Linked DNA regions of Homo sapiens: region 1 is linked to region 2. Evidence: promoter capture Hi-C in 16 types of primary human blood cells and fetal thymus (Javierre and others, 2016). All regions are on one chromosome and are shown on one strand. The core of a region is centred on a gene start or on the middle of the fragment in contact, and the rest is flanking DNA. Distances in the headings are between cores, read along the strand shown.

Evidence for each region. The method cuts DNA at HindIII sites, captures the fragments that hold promoters and counts their contacts. A CHiCAGO score of 5 or more calls a contact.
Region 1: a contact is called between the fragment with the promoter of KIAA1143 here and the fragment with the promoter of MANF in region 2, in 1 of 17 cell types (neutrophils). The highest score is 9.2, in neutrophils.

What each region holds. Positions count from the first base shown.
Region 1 is chr3:44,760,018-44,763,097 of GRCh38, reverse strand. It overlaps KIAA1143, which reads left to right and starts at 1,479. Exons shown (of 3, transcript NM_020696.4): 1 at 1,479-1,603. The coding sequence starts at 1,496. It overlaps KIF15 (kinesin family member 15), which reads right to left and starts at 1,304. Exons shown (of 35, transcript NM_020242.3): 1 at 1,214-1,304. The coding sequence starts at 1,232. RefSeq lists enhancers at 1,254-1,533, 2,324-2,966. The HindIII fragment of the contact is 21,704 bases long and covers 1-3,080 here.
Region 2 is chr3:51,383,721-51,386,865 of GRCh38, reverse strand. MANF (mesencephalic astrocyte derived neurotrophic factor) reads right to left here and starts at 1,575. Exons shown (of 4, transcript NM_006010.6): 1 at 1,430-1,575; 2 at 531-658. The coding sequence starts at 1,523. It overlaps DOCK3 (dedicator of cytokinesis 3), which reads right to left. Exons shown (of 53, transcript NM_004947.5): 53 at 2,668-3,145. RefSeq lists a silencer at 1,380-1,749 and an enhancer at 1,810-2,159. The HindIII fragment of the contact is 4,055 bases long and covers 1-3,084 here.

The sequences.
Region 1 (3,080 bases), core at 230-2,729, 6.6 Mb after region 2:
GAGAGTGCTCCCACCACTTTAGAAAGGTTCTCAAATTTGGTTTTCAGACAAGAGCCCTCAGTCACATACATATATCTCATTAAATAAGCAGATGTTTTACTTATTTAACAGGCATCAAATTTTTTGCTTGAGTCCAGATTTAGTGACTGATCCATAAAGTGGAAACAAAGAACAAACAGTATGATTGTTCAGAAAGCAGGATGAACATTTCTCTCCAATAAGGTACCATTTTGTGAGCTCATAGTCCTTGAATACTGAAAATGATGAAAGGAAAAGGAATATTTTATATGCAAAAAGGTAGCATAAGGAGGTGTTCCGATTAGGTGTGATCGACCTAAAAGATTAATGAAACAACAAACCCATCAAAAACGACTACAATTGACAGAAAGCTAGAAACATTAACGGCGTTGGAAAGCTCAAATGACAGAAGTTCACAAATTCTTAATCATCTAATCCAGGCCTCTCCTCATTACCATTCAGACCACTCACAAAGATCCCATTAAATCAGCTCATAATCAGGTTTACAAAAATAAGACTCCTTAAGAGATGTGGCAATGTGAGAAGTGGAGCACGTACACAGGCACAGCAAATGACTACGTTAGTGAAAACTGTAGGGTTTATCATAAGCAAAATGACAGTGCTCTCCTCCGTGAAAAAGAGAAAGAAATCGGACGGGTCTCCTTTAAGTGAAAATAGAGACTGTGAGAACATAAAGACATTGCTGACATCTGTGTTTTAACATTCCATTTATTTAAGGAAAGAGGAGAAAGAAATGTTTGGAATATAAATAAACCCTTCCCTATAGGAAGGTCAGAAATGTAGAAATACGCAGAAGCTGGTGGGAGCAAAAGCCGATCCTGAGACAAGGATATCTAGAGAGGTAGCCCTGGTCGGGATGTGGGAAGAGGCCTGCGAAGAAACAGCAGAACCAAGGGAAAGAAAGGGAAGAACGTCAGGTCCACTGCTCATCCCGAGCGCCTAGAACTGCGCCAGACTCCTGGCATGCGCACAGGACACTGAAGGAAGGGATGAGCTTTTCGGCTAGCGTATTGTCTTTGAGCGACAGAGCGGGATTCCCAAACGTCCCCGCCGGTCACTCAGCTCCTGCAGTTCATGCCTAGCAAGAACCTTGCGGGCGGTCCGAGGCTGCCATCCTTTCACAGCTGTATTTGGGGGCAAAAATAGGGTAACGAAGCCGGGGGCCCAGACTTACTTTTGCAGCCGGGTGCCATAGCGCCCTCACCCCTCGATCCCGAAAACAATGCAGCCGGTGCCTCCACCTCCCGACTGCACCGCGCGCGACTGAATTCCGCCCGCTCAAGATGGCCGCAAATTTGAATTTGGCGCTTGGATCGGACGTTGACGCCCGCATGGAGGCCGCCATGTTGCCCGGCCTACGCATCGGGGGCGTGGCCCAGTGACGTCACAGCTAAGCGCCTCTGTATCGTCGCGAATCCGTCGCGGAACCTGTCTTCTGTCTTTACCCAGAGCTACCATGAGCAAGCGGAACCAGGTATCGTACGTGCGGCCAGCCGAGCCGGCGTTTCTGGCCCGCTTCAAGGAACGGGTCGGCTACAGGGAGGGACCCACCGTAGAGACTAAGGTGAGCCTTCGCCAGTCGTGTTTCTTCGGAAGCGCAGCCAGCCCGCCACTTTCAACTTTTGCCTCTACTTGGAGGGTGGGTGCTGTCGGGTCCCTCTTTTCACCCGCGCTCGAACCCAATTCCGGTGGAACTCGGACCCCCAGGCTGGTTCTTTTCAAGCGACCACAGCCCCCTACGCCCAGGAAGCTCTGTAGTTTTCAGAGCGCTGCTGTGTTCCTGAAAATGAACTGACGTGTAAACCACCTGGTCCTTGGTAGATGGTAAAGAAAGATCACTTTATTGTCTCTTCTTTCTCACTTGTTTACCTCAAAAGCTGTGAGTTCGCAGGGTGAGTTAGAGTTACAGCGTCGTCCCGTATTCCAGATAAGGACACAGGCCACTCGATCAAATGACCCCCGCCCCAACCATGTCCTAGGACTCGAGTCTGGAACGTCTTCGGAGGAATGTCCTGAATCTGTTTCTATGCTTTGTTAATTAAAAATAAATAAAAATAATATAGAGAAGGTCGGGCACAGTGGCTCACGCCTGTAATCCCAGTACTTTGGGAGGCCTAGGTGGGCGGATCACCTGAGGTCAGGAGTTCGAGACCAGCAGAGCCAATAGCCAATATGGTGAAACCCCCCGTCTCTGCTAAAAATACAAAAATTAGCCGGGCATGGTGGCACATGCCTGTAGTCCCAGCTACTCCGGAGGCTGAGACAGAATCGCTCGAACCCGGGAGGTGGACGTTGCAGTGAGTTGAGATGGCGCAGCTGCACTCCAGCCTGGACAACAGAGCGAGACTCCGTCTCAAAAAAAAAAAAAAAAAGCCGGGCCTGGTGGCTCACGCCTGTAATCCCAGCGCTCTGGGAGGCTGAGGCGGCAGATCACGAGGTCAGGAGATCGAGACCATCCTGGCTAAAACAGTGAAACCGCGTCTCTACTAAAAATACAAAAAATTAGCCAGGCATGGTGGCGGGCGCCTGTAGTCCCAGCTACTCGGGAGGCTGAGGCAGGAGAATGGCGTGAACCCAGGAGGAGGAGCTTGCAGTGAGCCGAGATCGCGCCACTGCACTCCAGACTGGGCGACAGAGCGAGACTCCGTCTCAAAAAAAAGAAAAAAAAGAAGAGTAAGCAGAAGCCGTAAATATCCTGGGTCTAAATAGAAGAAGAGGAGCTTCAGGAAAGAGCCACACCTGACTATTGTTGTCTAGGGCCGGAGGGATCAGTATTGAACACATGAATGACAAGAAAGCAAAACAGCTACATTGCTGATACAGAGAAAGTTTTAGTGGTCTGGATAGAAGAGCAAACCAGCCACAACATTCCCTTTAACCAAAGCCTAATCTAGAGCAAGGCCCTAACTCTTAAATCCTGTGAAGTCTGAGACATGTGAGAAAGCTGCAGAAGAAAAGTGTGAAGCTAACAGAGGTTGGTTCATGAGGTTTAAGGAAAGAAGCCATCTCCATAACATAAAAGTATGAGATGAAGAAGCAAA
Region 2 (3,145 bases), core at 326-2,825:
TTAGAAAACCCATTGCTTCACTAGGGCTTTTGTCTTGGATTCGGCCCTTGCCTATCCTGTAGGCACCCTGTCACCTTCTCCTGTCCACATACATGCCACACTCTTTCAGGCCTCTGGGCACTCACACTGCTGTTCCCTGTATGGGATGGTCTTACCCCACTTCAATGATAACCCTTCCTCAGAGACTTCTTGGCCACTCTAAATCAGCACCTGCTGGTCCATTTTCTTCATGACACCCAGACATTGCATTATTTGTGTGTCCGACTGTCACTTCTTTCCCCTGATATTCCCAGTGCCTAGCACATAGTAGGTGCTTAATAAAGACTAACAGGATAAAAAAAAATCACAGTTGCAGAACACATGCTGCTTTGGGAAGGACATAGAAGCACTTCAGTCTTCTCACATTAGTTTATGGAGAGAGTAGCTGGCTTCCTGAACAGAGAGGTGGGCAAGGCCTTTTATCAAACGGCTGGTGAAGCCGAGGGTTAACATGAGCCAGGGCCAGTTGGGGAGGATCACCAGCTACTTACCAACCGATTCTCTTTGCCTCTTGCTTCCCGGCAGAACTTTATAAGTTCGTTTTCAATAGTGGCTGGTGAGAATGTGACATCTCTGTCTTTGAGGTCCTGGTAAAATCTTCCCAGATAAGAAATACAAACTGGAAAAGAGAGGGACGGGAGATGCTCAGCAATCACCAAGCTGTTCCAATCCACCAGAAAAGAACTCCGCCAGCAATTTTAATAGGAGACACGGAGATGAATCATTAGAGGTGAGCTTTTCCATCACCGATTTTTCTCAGGTGTCTACAGGTAGACAGAACCCGGTTCCAAGTGGCGGGGGTCCCCTGGTACACCCAGGGCATCAAAGGACCAAGCATCACCCAATGACCTATAAACGACTTCTCCCTGCTCCTTTCATCAAGTTTAAGCCCATGGTGAACACGTGTCCTTGAGACGGGACTCACTGTGACCTCATAAATGGAGAGACTGGAAGGTGAAGAGAAAAATGATCAAAATGCTGCTGCTAATTTCCAAATACAACAGCGGACCCAGAGGTGCAGCTTCGTGATCCCAACAGACAGGGCGCAGCACCCACGGCCAGCCCTGGAGCTCCCGACGCCGAACGGGGAGCGGTAACCTCTAGATGGTGGTGGGGACAATAACTCAGGAGTGATGGAGATTTCAGGACAAGTTTTCAACGGGATCTAGTCTCAACTTTTCTTCGTCGGACCAATGTTTTCTAGGCCCAAGAAAGATTTACTAGGGCGGGCGCCGGAGCCTCCTCATGCAGGCCCCGCGGGGACCTGCTGTCGCCCCCGCCCCCGCCCCCGCCCTCGCCCTCTTGGCCCCGGCCGTCTGGTGATGTTGTGGGGTTCAGCGCCGCCGCCAGAACGGTCACGGAGCGCGGCCCCCGGCCCCCTATCCCGCACCTTCGCAGTCGCCCGGCCGCAGCGCCCGGCTGCCCGGCAGCACGCTCAGAGCCAGCGCCACCGCCAGCCCCTGCGTGGCCCACATCCTCCTCATCCTCCTCATCCTCCTCCTCCTCCTCCTCCTCCGCTGCCGCCGCCGACCGACTGAACCGCACCCGCCGCGCCGCACCGCCTCCAAGTCCCGGCCGCGCGCCGTAGCTCCCCATTGGCGGGGGGCCCCCCGGCGCCCTCCCACATGCCACTTCCCCATTGGTCCAGGAGCCGCGAGCCCAGACGGGCGGCTCCACGCTGCCCTCCCTCATTGGCTGGTGGTGTCTGAGCCCTAGACAGTTGTCGGCCGCTGATTGAACCCGGGCTGGCCGCAGGAAGCGACTACAGCAGCGACGGAAGCGGTGTGGGCCGCCATCTTGGGTAAGGGCAGCGACTGTGGCTGAGGCTGGGTACTGCTAGCTGAATGGGGTTCGGCCACGCCTTACATCTGTTGAGTTGACCCGCGTACCCCTGCCCTGGGCCCCAGGCTCCCTCGAAAACCCCTGCTGATCTCCTCGCCCGGACTCCGACTCGTGGTGCAGGAGTTCTGGGGTCAGCCAAGACAACAGGTTAGGCAGGAAGGGCGGGCGGCCGCAGGCAAGGCTCAAAGAGGTTTCTTTTTTCTTCTTTCATTCGCGTGGGCAACGGATCCAACCTTTGAAAGCCCACCTGCTGATCCTCCACCTGACCGGAGCCCGCCGTGCATAGGCTGATAGGAGACGTGCGGGGTGGACGGACTGCGGGACATCTGAAGGAAGGGCTCAAGGCGCGCCAAGCTCAAAGCTGGGCCGCCACTCTAGACCGTGGAGGGAAGCGCCCGGGCCAGATCATCGGTCGAGGACATGGGGTCGCCTCAGAGTGGGAAGGTGAGGGGCTCGGGAGGTGCCCTTACAAGCTCTGAATCGTGGCTTGGTGGCTGGCCAGCCTCCTCCTGCCTCCCCGGCTAGGCCCTCGGGGTCCCCCGCTGCCGTGGGACCTCCTGAGTGGGGTCCCGGGAATCACCAGAGAAGCACTGGAGGATGTTTCCTTTTCGACTGCCCTCCTTTCAAGTGCCCTCCTGGCTGCCTGCCTTCAAGGCAGGATGCGGGAACCGTTGGCTCTACTCAGTGCAAAAAGGACATGTCTATAGGGCTAAAAAGGGCTTGGAGCCCGGCGACAAGGGTTGGAGAGGGGCACATCCTCTGCTCCCATTCAGTGAATTCAGTGGATCAGTATCACGTATTTATCTTTAATTCACATCACAGCAGTCAAGGAAGTGGGGAAAGGGGGAAAAAAAATCAAGTGGCAGATATTTACATCTAAAATTCACATTACTTGTTGGATTTTGAACATGCTACCACAATATATACAGTAAAATACCTCTTGGGACAATGGTACAAATTTTGTTTCCTTTAACTTTGCTTTTCTGGTACAGGTAAGATCATTTTTAAATCACTTTTTTTCTTTAAACATGAATACACAAAAGAAATGGTTAGAAGTTTCCTTGTTTTAAATAAGCACAGAATGCGGGAGGTTAAAAACACATTTATAGTGCTGAATACCAATTGGACATCACACTCTATACATTTTTTGCTCAAATTCCTGTACAAATACACAGCATTCAAATAGGTATTTACAAATAAGCTTGAAAGAATGAAAATCAGTATTTTACAATCTTTTCAAAGGGTTCTCATCTCTGGCCTCCCA